Linked DNA regions of Homo sapiens: region 2 is linked to region 1. Evidence: promoter capture Hi-C in 16 types of primary human blood cells and fetal thymus (Javierre and others, 2016). All regions are on one chromosome and are shown on one strand. Each heading gives the region's core, a stretch centred on a gene start or on the middle of the fragment in contact. The rest is flanking DNA. Distances are from core to core; before and after follow the strand shown. Region 1 holds the start of KCNJ13 (potassium inwardly rectifying channel subfamily J member 13). Region 2 overlaps USP40 (ubiquitin specific peptidase 40).

Region 1 (6,254 bases), core at 1,918-4,417:
TTACACAAGGCAAATAGGAGCTTTGGATTATTTGGATGGTTATTCAAGTCTAGCTAACTTCAAAGCCAGTTAATTTTTTTTTTTAATACAGGAAGCGTTTGGTGAAATAACAGTCTTTCCAAAAATGATTGATATTGCATTCTCAAGAAGGTCTTTGATAGCCAAATTTCTAGCACCTTTAGTAGATGCCTTTCTTGCCCCTGAAACTGTCTCAAGTATCTGTATTAAACCATTGTTAACTTTGTTCATGATTCTTTAGATAGTAATGATTAATAATATTAGCTAATATATATATTGTTTAGCATGTGCCAGGAATCATACCAAATACTTCATATGTACAAACTGATGTGAAGCCAGTGGCACAGAGTAAGCTCTCAGTAAAGTATTAGTTGCTTTATTGTTATTAAAAACGTGTCTGGCTCCCAGCACTTCGGGAGGCCGAGACAGGAGGATTGCTTGAGTCCAGGAGTTAGAGACCAGCCTAGGCAACGTAGTGAGACTTTGTCTCTATTTAAAAAAAAAAAAAAAAAAAAAAAGGTGTCTTAAGTTTCACAGTAATAAGTATCACTATTAGTCCCATTTTACAGATAACGAAAGTGAGGAACCAGGCATGGTGACTCATGCCTGTAACACTAGCACTTTGGGACGTTGAGTCGGGAGGATTGCTTGAGGTCGGGAATTCAAGACCGATCTGGCCAACATAGCGAGACCCTGTCTCTAAAAGAAAAAAAAAAAAGAAAGAAAATGAGGTATAATGAGGTAGTAAGTGGTGGATATGAATATTATACATTCTGAGTCCAGAGTTAGTGCCATATTGCCTCCAAAACAGATGTTTGACCCTGCTTAGCCTTTGTGAATAATACAGTTTCATTTGATTAGTTTTGTTCAAGAGCCGCTCCAGAGTGTTTGTTCTTCAGTAATGTTTATTGGGTTCAGACCTATTATTTGTAGGTTAGAAACAGATATTCAGTTAGGAAAGACTTCTTTCAAGACTTGAAGATTATCACAGTCTGAATTATTAGATAGTCCAGTTGTGTTTTGCACATCAGTAAAATTAAAGCAATGTAGAGAGGAGAGTTATGACATAACATTGCCAAGTTTCTGTTTTGCCAGATGAGAAGACAATTTTACAAGTATAATACTGTCATTATAAATAAAATTATGATGACATAATAAAAGATTTTGACACATGGAAGAAGGATATAACAATGAAAGGATAGTTGGTTGCCTTCAAAATGGTGGGTGAACAACTTTGTCATTCTCCACTGTTGTTGCTTCCTGCCTATGTGAAAATGCCCCTCATGCTCCTGGACACTAGTGCTTGTTCCACATTTGGAGCCACTGTCCTACTGAATGCTGCTAAGTGCTTAGTGTTTCACAAAAGCTTGAGAAAGAAAAAACTCCATGATTCTTTTGTATTTTCAACCTATTTTATGAAAGTTCTAAAATTCCTTACTTAGAGCCTTTCTGTATAGACTGTAGCTAACAAAATTCATCATTCTCATTTGGGCTTTTTCAGGACTGTTGTTACTTCTTACCTACAACTTTTGTAGCACTCTTACTCTAGGCTCTTTACAATTGTATTTTTTTTCTCTTGCAACTAAATACATGGAAAAACCTGTGAACAGGGAAGTCAAAAGGCTGATAATCGGAACAGTTAAGCAGCATTTTTTTTTTTTTAACCTAAGACTGCTGGATTTGGTTTGGATTGTGTTGGCAAGTGGAGTAATATAGAGAAGGAAGATTGATTTCTGATTCCCACTTAACCAATTACCCTGAATAACTATTCTGTGGACTCTTATAGTCAGTGTGGTTTAGTGTAGAGAACGCAGGATAAGGGGATATGGCCTTCAGGCTCTAGCACTGTTGGTTACATAGCTGTGTCATTTTGGGCAAACCACTCAATCCCATTGGCCTGGCATCCTTAGATTAAAACAAAGAAAGTGAAAAAAGAGGGAATTATGATAATAAGATTTCTTAAAGCTCTACAGACTTATGTAAACAAACATATTTCCACTTCCTACAAAGGATACAAGTTTCCTATATGATTTCTTTTATTTCTGTATAGTTTGATGTCTGCTCGTATGGTTTAAAAAATTATACTATTGTTACCTGATATTTAAGTCTCATCAGCTGATCCCAATAGAAAGTGAGGTGGAAGGTTGGGAAGGTTTGCTTCTATTGCTGTGTGTGGGCTGTAAAATATTTGCCCATTTATAAATTATTTGGAGGAAAAATAGTACCTATTAAAAAATGATAGGCAGCTTCACTGATCATCAGAATTCATTCTACTCATTGGGTTGTAGCACTTAAAAGTATGTATTTTCTGTTGCCATGATAAAAAATAGTATAGTTCATACTGAGGAGTTAAGATAAAGGCTATAACTAACAAACATTAAATGAAGATGGCATTACTATGTATTTGTTCATGTCTGGTGTAAATACTTTAAGACTATATTGAAAGTCTTATAATGATTTCTCCTGCCCTCCACAATTAGGGCAAACACTATTGAGTTCTAACCCTGTTATATAAGCTCAGAGATTCTATTTTAATTTCTCAGTTGCAGAAGTATCTATTAATTTCCGCAATAATTCCATGCTTAAAAATTTACGATTAGGATACTCATCACTTTCTTCTTAGATTACAGAAGTAAAAACAAAGTGGCTTATTCTTTTGGCATTTGTTTTTTTATGCTCATTTTGGGTTTTTGAAATTCCTTCCAAAAGAAAAAGACTTTTTTTTTCCTCAAGCCACTGAATTTTTTTTCCTAAGGCCTTTATCCTCTACTGATATATTGTAATAGAAAATTAGTATACATTTAATAAAACAGTTAAGAAAATTTCCAGTAATACATTCAATATGGCTGTTATTGCATTTTTAAGATTTAAGGGAAAAGAATATAGAAACCTTACTATCCTACACTATAGATAATGTCTTTGTTTTAAAAATCTGTTGGAAGTAATCTAGCTCTGTTGCTATTTGCCAGTCAGTTTCTTTCCCTGTTTCCCATAAGGAAAGAAGAATGGATATTATTGCATGTACTCACCAGTTCTTTTGCTGGGTCAGCCTTTATGCCAAGGTAGGTCTTAAGGAAATTTACAGAGTCTGCCTTTTTGATCAGATAATTTTAATCTACAAGTCTAGTTTGTAGGTTCTCTTCTTGGACTGGTTTTACAGCTTACATTCCTCTGTTTATAATGTTGTGGGGGCTGGTTTCAGCTGAGGTTGATGTGATTGGTCACTTAGCCTGCAGGGGGGCCAATTAGCTCTGATCATGTGGAAAAGAATGCTGGTTTGTTAGGAGGTCTTTCTTTACCCAACACAAACCTTAACAACTCTGGAGAAAGCCTCCAGAACTGACTTGGAGAAGGGGTGCATTTTTTCCCTCTAATCAGGACCGGTCTTTAGTAAGTTTGCATAATCTTACTTAAGAGTTTTTTTGAAAGTTCAAAGGGATAAAATTCCCTGCAAGATTTTTCAGCCGTCTTTCCTTATATAGCATGTTGAAGTGTGAGATATTTCCTTTACTAATCTTTTTTTTTTTCCACCATGTCTTTGGGGAAGATTTATTTGGATAAGGACTTATAGGCATAAATTAATGCATTGATTTTCTTAGTTTTCTTCTCATGTCTCATCAGAATGGCTACCATTAGTTCCAGAACTAGTAATATAGATAATTACGTGAAATCTTTTATTTTTTTGGTTAGGAAACAAACTTTTTTTTTTTAAAGGCTGTATACAAAGACCTTGAATAGGAATAAAATTAATTGTTCTGTACCTGATACTTTAAAAAATGCACACCTGTGGGAAAGAACCGAAGAATTTTCTTAAGGCTTATTTTAATGATGTTTAGAAGATGTTTTCCTGATCAGTGTGATGAAGTATAGTGTTAATAAAACATAGTGTACAGTGTACAGAAAATGTAACACAACATTGAAATAGTGTTTAGCTGGAAAATGTGATCCAGCTTGTTGGAACCCTGAAACGTGCTGTGGTATGGCTTTGTGCAGTGCCTTAGTGAACAGTACTTTTCTCCTCCTCCGTTAGCTGCTGATTTTAAAACTTTGACCAAATGTCACATGTAAGAGGATCTGAGAAACAAAGACTGTGATTGTTCAAAGTAAAATCTTGGAAGGCCTGCTGGGAAAATTATTAATGTAGACCAATATAATGCTACTTAGAAAGTGAAATCCGCCTTTGTAGAATCCTCTCCGTCCCCCCCCCGCCCCACAATTTAAAAAATATATTAATTCCTTCTTTGTTTTATTAGTACCAAATACTTCAACACAAGTTCAGACACAGCATTAGAAACACTGACCTTCAGAACTAGGGAAGGTAAAGTATAAAGAAGGATTTGTGGTGTGATGCTCATTCCCTGCATGTACTGGTAGGAATTATAATGTGTATCAATTCCCAGCTAACAAATTGCAGAAAAACAGAACAACACAACAACAAAATACTAGAACAAGTATAGTATAATACTGCTTCTAGAAAGCAGAAGCACTTGAGTGTATCTGTCATGTGTTTTGAATATACATTGTATATTTTTTATTTTCATTTTTTTTAGACATAGAGTCTTGCTGTGTCACCCAGGCTGGAGTGCAGTGGTGTGATCACAGCTCACTGCAGCCTCGACCTCCCAGGCTCAAGTGATCCTCCCACCTCATCCCCCACCCCCTGCAGTAATGCCACCACATCTGGCTAATTTTTTATTTTTTGTAGAGGCAGGGTCTTGCTGTGTTGTCTAGGCTGGTCTTGAACTCCTGGGCTCAAGCTGTCCTCTCAATTCAGCCTCCCAAATTCCTGGGATTACAGGCATGAGCCACTTCACCTGGCCTGAGAATACATATTATAGTAGGCAAGACAGTTAAGGATTTTATTAAACTTAAAAGTCTTTTTCCATAGTATACTTGGTTTCAATATATTGAGACAAAAATGATTTGGCAAAATGATCTTCAATTAAGAAAGAAATGTCTTAAGTGAAGCTAATTTCTGGATCTCTACAATTTGAAAGTCTTGCTATGGTCTATAAACAGTGATTCCTACTGCTGTGAATATTGTAGACCAGCTCTGAAGTGCCCACTTAGGAGCATAGCTCTCCCATTACAATAGCCTGAGCATTTAAAGTCATTTCTGGTTGAAGTTACCAGGTTAGCTGGTGTAGGGGAGAGAGAAGACCTTCTCTCTTCCTTTTGAAGGTTTGATAATTGAGTCTATAATATAAAGCAACAGTAGGTAGACTTAACAGAAGAAAAACAGTTTACATCCTTATGCACAAGAGTCCCACAAAACATGAGACTTGAGGAAGGACCAGATGATTGAAGTTCTTATAGCATTGGAATAGGGATGTGGAGGTCCTGGGGGAAGGTATTGACAAGCTGTGGGAAAATGAGGGGAGGAAATGTATGATGAACAAAAGTTGTCTAGTTATTGAGATAAAGTCTTTCAGGTATTGAAAATTAACTTGAGGAAGAACGCTACTAGACCTTTTAATCTCTTATGTGATAAGGTTAATCTTCCCTGATTGATGAAATTCTAGGGAGGGGACAAAGGAATTTTTTGAGATAAGGGGGCATCAGAGAAGGCCCCTCCCTGTGCTTGCTGTTCCCTAAGTTCTCTCAGTTTGCAGTAATGAGCATACCAAAGCAGTATATTTTGGGGTGGTGTTTCCTGGGGCTCCTTCACTGAGATGACACGGATATTGGCACAGATGATATGCCACCTTCACCCAGAAACTCATGGTCCTTCCCATCTAGACAATTTGTTATTTCTGTTGTAGCTGTTTCACAGTAAGGTAATTGGAGATGGCTCTAAAACATTTCTTCGGTGAATGAACATAAATGGTAAATACCTGTTCATAGATTGATGGATTGTGTCTCCAAAATTATAATGATTAAATTAAACAAGGTACCAAGACCTGGTTAATTATCCTGTATTAAATCTAGTCCTCTGTCCCTAAAGGCATTTGATTTTCTTTCTGACTGAAATAATTCACTATATATCTATAAATGTATCACATTTTTCTTGAGAACAGTAAAATCTTCAGTTGGAGTGCGATTTCTGGCCTATGTAAGTAGGTAATCTCACAGCTTTAAAACGTTAGCTCTGGTCTCCATGTTCTTGCTTACATAGTGTACTTGGCTTTCTTTTGAAGATGCCTAGTCTCTTTCCATTTCCACATGTCCAAGCCAACTACGAATTGCCTTCCCACAGATTTCAGGCAGCCTCTGGGTATGTACCAGCAGACAGCTGA
Region 2 (6,410 bases), core at 705-3,204, 740 kb after region 1:
CGCACACCACCACGCCTGGCTAATTTTTGTTGTATTTTTCAGTAGAGACAGGGTTTCACCATGTTAGCCAGGATGGTCTTGATCTCCTGACCTTGTGGTCTCCCCGCCTCGGCCTCCCAAAGTGCTGGGATTACAGGCGTGAGCCACTGTGCCCGGCCTGCACATGCATGTTTATAGCAGCACAGTTTGCAATTGCAAAATCATGGAACCAACCCAAATGCCCATCAATCAATGAGTGGATAAAGAAACTGTGGTGTGTGTGTGTGTGTGTGTGTGTGTGTGTGTGTGTGTGTGTGTATGATGGAATACCACTCAGCCATAAAAAGGAATGAATTAATGGCATTTGCCGTGACCTAGATGAGATTGGAAACTATTATTATAAGTGAAGTAACTCAGGAATGGAAAACCAAACACCGTATGTTCTCACTGATACGTGGGAGCTAAGCTATGAGGACACAAAGGCACAAGAATGATATAGTGGACTTTGGGGACTTGGGGGGAAGGGTGGGAGGGGGATGAGGGATAAAAGACTACAAATAGGGTGTAGTGTATACTGCTCGTGTGATAGGTGCACCAAAATCTCACAAAGCACCACTAAAGAATTTACTCATGTAACCAAACACCACCTGTACCCCAATAACCTATGGAAAAAATAACAATAAAAAATGTGCTCAAAATATGTTTTTTTTTTTAAAAGTCAAAACCAAACCAGTAACAGATTCTAAAAAAAAAAAAAAAAAAAAAAAAAAAAAAGATGGCTGGGCTCAGTGTCTCATGCCTGTAATCCCAGCACTTTGGGAGGCCGAGGTGGGCAGATTACCTGAGGTCAGGAGTTTGAGACCAGCCTGGCCAACATGGTGAAACCCTGTCTCTACTAAAAACACAAAAATTAGCTGGGCGTGGTGGCACACGCCTGTAATCCCAGCTACTTGGGAGGCTGAGGCAGAAAAATTGCTTGAGCCTGGGAGACGGAGGTTGCAGTGAGCGGAGATCGTGTCACTGCACTCCAGCCTGGCTGACAGAGTGAGACTCTGTCTCAAAAAAAAAAAAAAAAAAAAGATAATCACAATTAATCACAGATTGACAAGGACATGTAGAAACTGCAACCCTGACACACTGCTAGTGGGAGTATAAATGGTTCAGTCACTTTGGATAATAGTGCGAGAGTTTCTTATAAAGTTAAACATAAATTTGCAAATGACCCAGCAATTCCAATCCGGTACATGTACCCAAGAGAAATGAAAACATATCTCCTCACCAAGACTTATGTGTAAAAGTTCATAGTGGCATTATTCATAAAAGCACAAAAGTAGAGACAATCCAAATGTCTATCAATTCATGTTTGTCCAGGATAAACAAAATGTGATACTATCCATATAATGGAATACTAGACTAGTCAGCAATGCAAAGGAACAAGCTATTGATACGTACTAAATCATGGACTAACCTCAAAAATGATATGCTATGTGAAAGAAGCCAGACACAAAAGACTATATGTTTTATGATTCCAATTACATTAAACATTAAGAAAATAAAGTCTATAGAGACAGAAAGCAGATTAGTGGTTGCCAGGGGCTTGGAATACAGATGGGTACAGGGATATTTTTGGAGTAATGGAAGTATTCTAAAACTGGATTGTGGTGATGGTTATAGAACTCTACACATTTACTGATGATTACTGAATTAAACACTTAAACTGAGTGAATTTTATGGTATGTAGATTATATCTTAATAAGGCTGTCACAGAAAGCCTAATGGTAAGTGAATAGTGAGTTTGCAGAATATACATTCAGTATAGTACAACATGAATACATGGACTAGATACACACCCACATCAGATATACTCATTGTATCTGGGGAAGGAGAGAAAGAATAGGTCTGAGGAGGAGAACACAGGGGACTTTAACTTCATTTATAATGTTTCAAACAAAAACAAACATATGACAAAATGTTAATATTTGTCCATTTTGGGTGGTAGGTATGTGAGTTCTCCCTAAACTGTTTTTTGTATTCTCCTATATTTTCTTCAATTCAAGACCAAAATTAAGCTAAACTAAGAACCGAAAAGAAAATGTAAATGATTACCTAGTTCCTTCATTAATTTTAATTCCTTTATGGCTTTAATTCGAATATCAAACACCATCTAAAACAGAGAAATAAAATAATGACTAAGTTGTAAAAAATGGGAGGAGATGAAAATGAGGATTGTCACTGTGTGCATAAACAAATTATTTGAGATATTAATTACCTGACATTTAGTAGTTTTTGCCCACTGGAAATTTTTCCATCCCTGAAATCCTTTTATAAGATCAAAAGCAAAAACTTAGGACTTCATAGTTAAGTTTTTACCAAATTGATGTTAATTGGAACAGAAAGGACACCTACAGAAAACTACAGAAACTGTAGAAAACTACAGAAACTAAAGAAACTAGCTGAAAGGCAATAAGCTGACAAACCAGTAACTTTTCTCATGAAAGCAAACAAAATAAACTGCAGGCAATCACATTTCTCTATGTCAGGAATGATGAATGTGGGGCCAGTAAGCATAAATAAAAATGTATACTATCAGCCCGAGTGCACTATTTAAAATTTCTGTTTAAATGACTTTATTTTAGATTCTTTCCCTTTTTCAGTTTAACCTAATTTCCTCTAGGATACAAAATCTTGTAAATTTAGGAGTAAAACCGATGTCAGACAATCTGTCCTCCCACAGCACCCCACATTGTGAAAAGAAGAAACAGAGTGAGTCATAAAGGACTTCACCAAAGTCTCTCACTTAGGGTCAAGGTACTAGATCTTCTGAACTTTAGTGTATTCATCATACAGTGTAAATATTAACACACTTTAAGAAATTATAATATTTATATAAAAGAAAACAACATTCTAGTAAGTTTCAACTTGTTATAGAAAAAAAACCCATAATGAATTGAGACTACATAAATATAAAAAGGTATTTCCTGAGATGGTGTTTAACGAAACTAGTCTTCAAATGGAGAACTGAAAGAGTTCCTTTTAAGAACACCTGGCTTTACAGAAAAACAGAGTATAATGTAAAACAATTTAAGATAAATTTAAAAAACAGAAGTCCACAACACAAAACCAAAACATATGTATACTTGGCTTAAAAAAAATACAGAAAAGACCCTTGAAAACAGCATTTTCAAGGAAGCCAAAGAATTTCATTTTGTGGGAGCCAGAGAATTCCATGAACTAACTAAATGAGTAACTCCCACATTCTAATTCTAGGCTTTGGAGGAAATTTTAAAAGGCACGTATTTTCTTGAAATATGCTAAGGGCTAACATAGGTAAACAAGCAATAATCAAATGTTAAATAAAAAGCTGACTTCCTAAGAGCTGAAGTCTATTGAGACAACTGTTCTGAAAGATTAAGGTATTGTTTTCTAAATAAAATTCTGTTAACTGAAAATCTATCAGCCAACCTTTAATTATATTCTACTCACTGTGTTAACAGTTGCTGATATTTTAACTTGCTTCTCTTCAGATTCTAACTGGCATAAATTTTTAACGTGGAGCCAGTCAATCTCATTCATACTAGTGACCCATTTCTCTTCCTTGGTCAACAAGCTGTAGGTAAAAAGAAAAGATCAGAAATTAATACCTTTCCTTAGGCATCACTTCCAAAACTCTGCATGTGTCACTTAATGTGACTAATTAGAGGTGACCAAGTTCTACTGAGTCGTCTCTATGATAAGTGGGCTACCTTTGCAGGGTAATGTTAGGCAGTAGTCTATAGAGTCTATATTCATGACTCCAAATATTCTTTGATTTACCTACATAATTTGTTGCCACATTTTTCACAGAGAACTTCTGTAAGTAAACAGTTGCTGGCTTCTGCCTGCACCCTGCAAATCACTAGGGGAGCTTTAAAAGAGCACCTATGCCAGGAGCCTACCCCACTGGATCTAGATTTCATTTAACAACAGGGCAGCCATGTGCAGTCTGTAGACTGACACTGCACAAAAGGGCCACATCTAAGGAGTGTCACACATGGCATATATATTGTATACTGCATTTCTACATAGAGTTTTGTTTTATAATTGCAGCCGGCAGTAGAGTATCTTGTTCTAACATTTTCCCACAGATAGTAGTAAAGGGTCCTGAAGAGGTGCCTTCTTTCTAATTCACACAGAAGCATTAATGGGCTTGCCGAAGTCCTCTTTGGGAATGTACATTAGAGCTCTGAAACATCATTCTACTCTTTATTGCAGTTATTCCATTCTGAGCTCCTACCTTAAGCTAGCAATCCCAAATAAAACAAAGTATGAAGCACAAGATGCTCCATGAAGACTACTTTAAAATAGTGAAAAACTGTATGATAATTATGACAATGACCGTAATATATTAACTAAAACATTTAGCACTTACTGTGTGTACTTTGTAAGCACTCAACTCTTTCAATCCTCTCAAGTCTATGAAGTTGGCACTAGTTATTATCCCTATTTGACAGACAAGAAGACTGAGCAGAGAAAGACGAAATACCTTGCCCAAGGTCCCACTACAGCCTACTGACTTGCCTAGGAGCACAGTTAGGCAAACTATAATGTCACATAGATTACTATGTAGCCATTCAAGGCAGTTTATAAAGAGTCTACAAATCTCAAGGTTGGGCAGGGGTAATGGAAAGCAGGATACAACTACTTATCTACAAAATAATCATTATTAGGTTTAAAAAGAAAGGCACCCAAATGCTAACAGTGATTAACACTGCATGCTGAGAAGACGGATACTGTTTTGGGTCCCTTCTGTCTTCACTTTTGTATTTCCCCAGTCCCAATAAATGCATACTGCCTTTTATAAAGGAAATACAGTTCTTATAAACAAGGTAGGGAATGTCTGCAAAACCCCTGTCCAAAAGAGTAATAGTGGTAAGTGTACTACGAAAGAAACGGTCCACAAGTGCTCTGCTTCTCTGCATCAAAGCCACTATAAATAATGATACAGACATCCTGCAATCTAAGTAAATCTGTAGCACTGAGAAAACAGGGAGCTTGAAGTCTTCAATATATGGAAATATTGCAGTTACAGTGTATGACACATTGACTACAGCAATGTACTGTCACAGACATAGATGACAAAGAGATGCAGCTTTAAATGTGACCACAGGATTCATGGGGGTAATTCGCCACGTAACTGCTCTATTTGGGCAACTGGGTTCTCAAGAGTCACAGAACGGATTATAAGGAAACAATGAGTTGTCTTATGGGTCTCCTGAAACAAAATATCCAGAAACAATTTAGCCATAATGTTAATACCTTCTTCAGGAAAATTTTCAGTTTTCTCTGTGAGAATTTCCTTCGGTTTTATAACTGGCACTAATCAGAATTCACTTGATAACTTTTGCATTACAGCCAACTAATTGATACTCTATACAGTCTAGAAAATCAGGGATACTTATATTATTTTCTCACCACATTTACCAAAAAGTCCCTTTACAAAAAATCATGTTTTTCTCTAAGTTACATAACCTAAAACATTCCTGTATGCAATATTTAGAACATAATGTCTAGAAATAAAGAAACATTCAACTCTTGTCACTAAAATAAAGCTTTAGAGTTCTGCTGGGTGGTACTGTAATTAAAATGACTTTTAGAAATCCTTTTTCTCTTGTTAGCGAGTTACCTGTTATCATCATGAGAATCCTGAATTAAAATTGAGCTTCCATTTCTGAGCCCTTGCTCCCTGAACGTCTTCCTCATGTCTTCCTTGGGGATGGCCGTCCAACCCTCCCCACCTGGACATCCAGCACTGTTGATGAAGATGACACCTGCTGGGATTGCTAAGGCTGTGAGGACAGTGCCCACTTCTGCATTAGCTGGAAAGACATGTGGAGATTCTATCACCTGACAACACTTTTCTCCATCACTGCTTGTGTCTAGATGAAGAACATTTAAAAGTAGAGGTTCGCAGTCAATACCAGTTTGAATGTGGACTCCACCAACCTGCAATCATACCAAGACAACCATTAGTACAGCTGATATTTGCCAACACCGTCAACATAACATGGTAAAAGATTACTCTTAGAGAACAACCCTCATTTTTTCCAAGTAAAATAAAATTTTCACAAATGTCTGTTAAGCATCAGAGGAACAACTTCAGATTTTTCTTTTGAAACTTTCTTATCTTTTATTTTTTTAGGAGAAATCTATGATAGACTGGAGATAGACATTTATGAGTTATCATGGGTGGTGATGAAGCCAGATTGGCCAAGGTCAGTTCACAGAGTGGCTGAAGTGCTCCTGGCCGCCTTCTAGAGATAGAAAATTCACTCTCTACCTCCAAACCACCCCCACTCCCCAACTCAGTATAGATTCTCACTCTTCTAAATTCCCACAGGCACTATGCACAGACCCCCTACTCCAGCACGTATGGTGCAGTTCTTCACACGACG

The links. Contacts are between HindIII fragments. The CHiCAGO score rates a contact against its expected background, and 5 or more counts as called.
Region 2: a contact is called between a fragment that was not itself captured here and the fragment with the promoter of KCNJ13 in region 1, in 1 of 17 cell types (M2 macrophages). The highest score is 5.2, in M2 macrophages.

What each region holds. Positions count from the first base shown.
Region 1 is chr2:232,773,398-232,779,651 of GRCh38, forward strand. It overlaps KCNJ13 (potassium inwardly rectifying channel subfamily J member 13), which reads right to left and starts at 3,168. Exons shown (of 3, transcript NM_002242.4): 1 at 3,048-3,168. All of the region lies in intron 8 of GIGYF2 (GRB10 interacting GYF protein 2), which reads left to right. The HindIII fragment of the contact is 5,243 bases long and covers 1,383-6,254 here.
Region 2 is chr2:233,517,529-233,523,938 of GRCh38, forward strand. USP40 (ubiquitin specific peptidase 40) reads right to left here. Exons shown (of 32, transcript NM_001365479.2): 16 at 5,642-5,961; 17 at 3,463-3,586; 18 at 2,086-2,143. Among named protein-coding and RNA genes, the nearest start is that of USP40, 46 kb to the right of the region's middle. The HindIII fragment of the contact is 7,221 bases long and covers 1-5,565 here.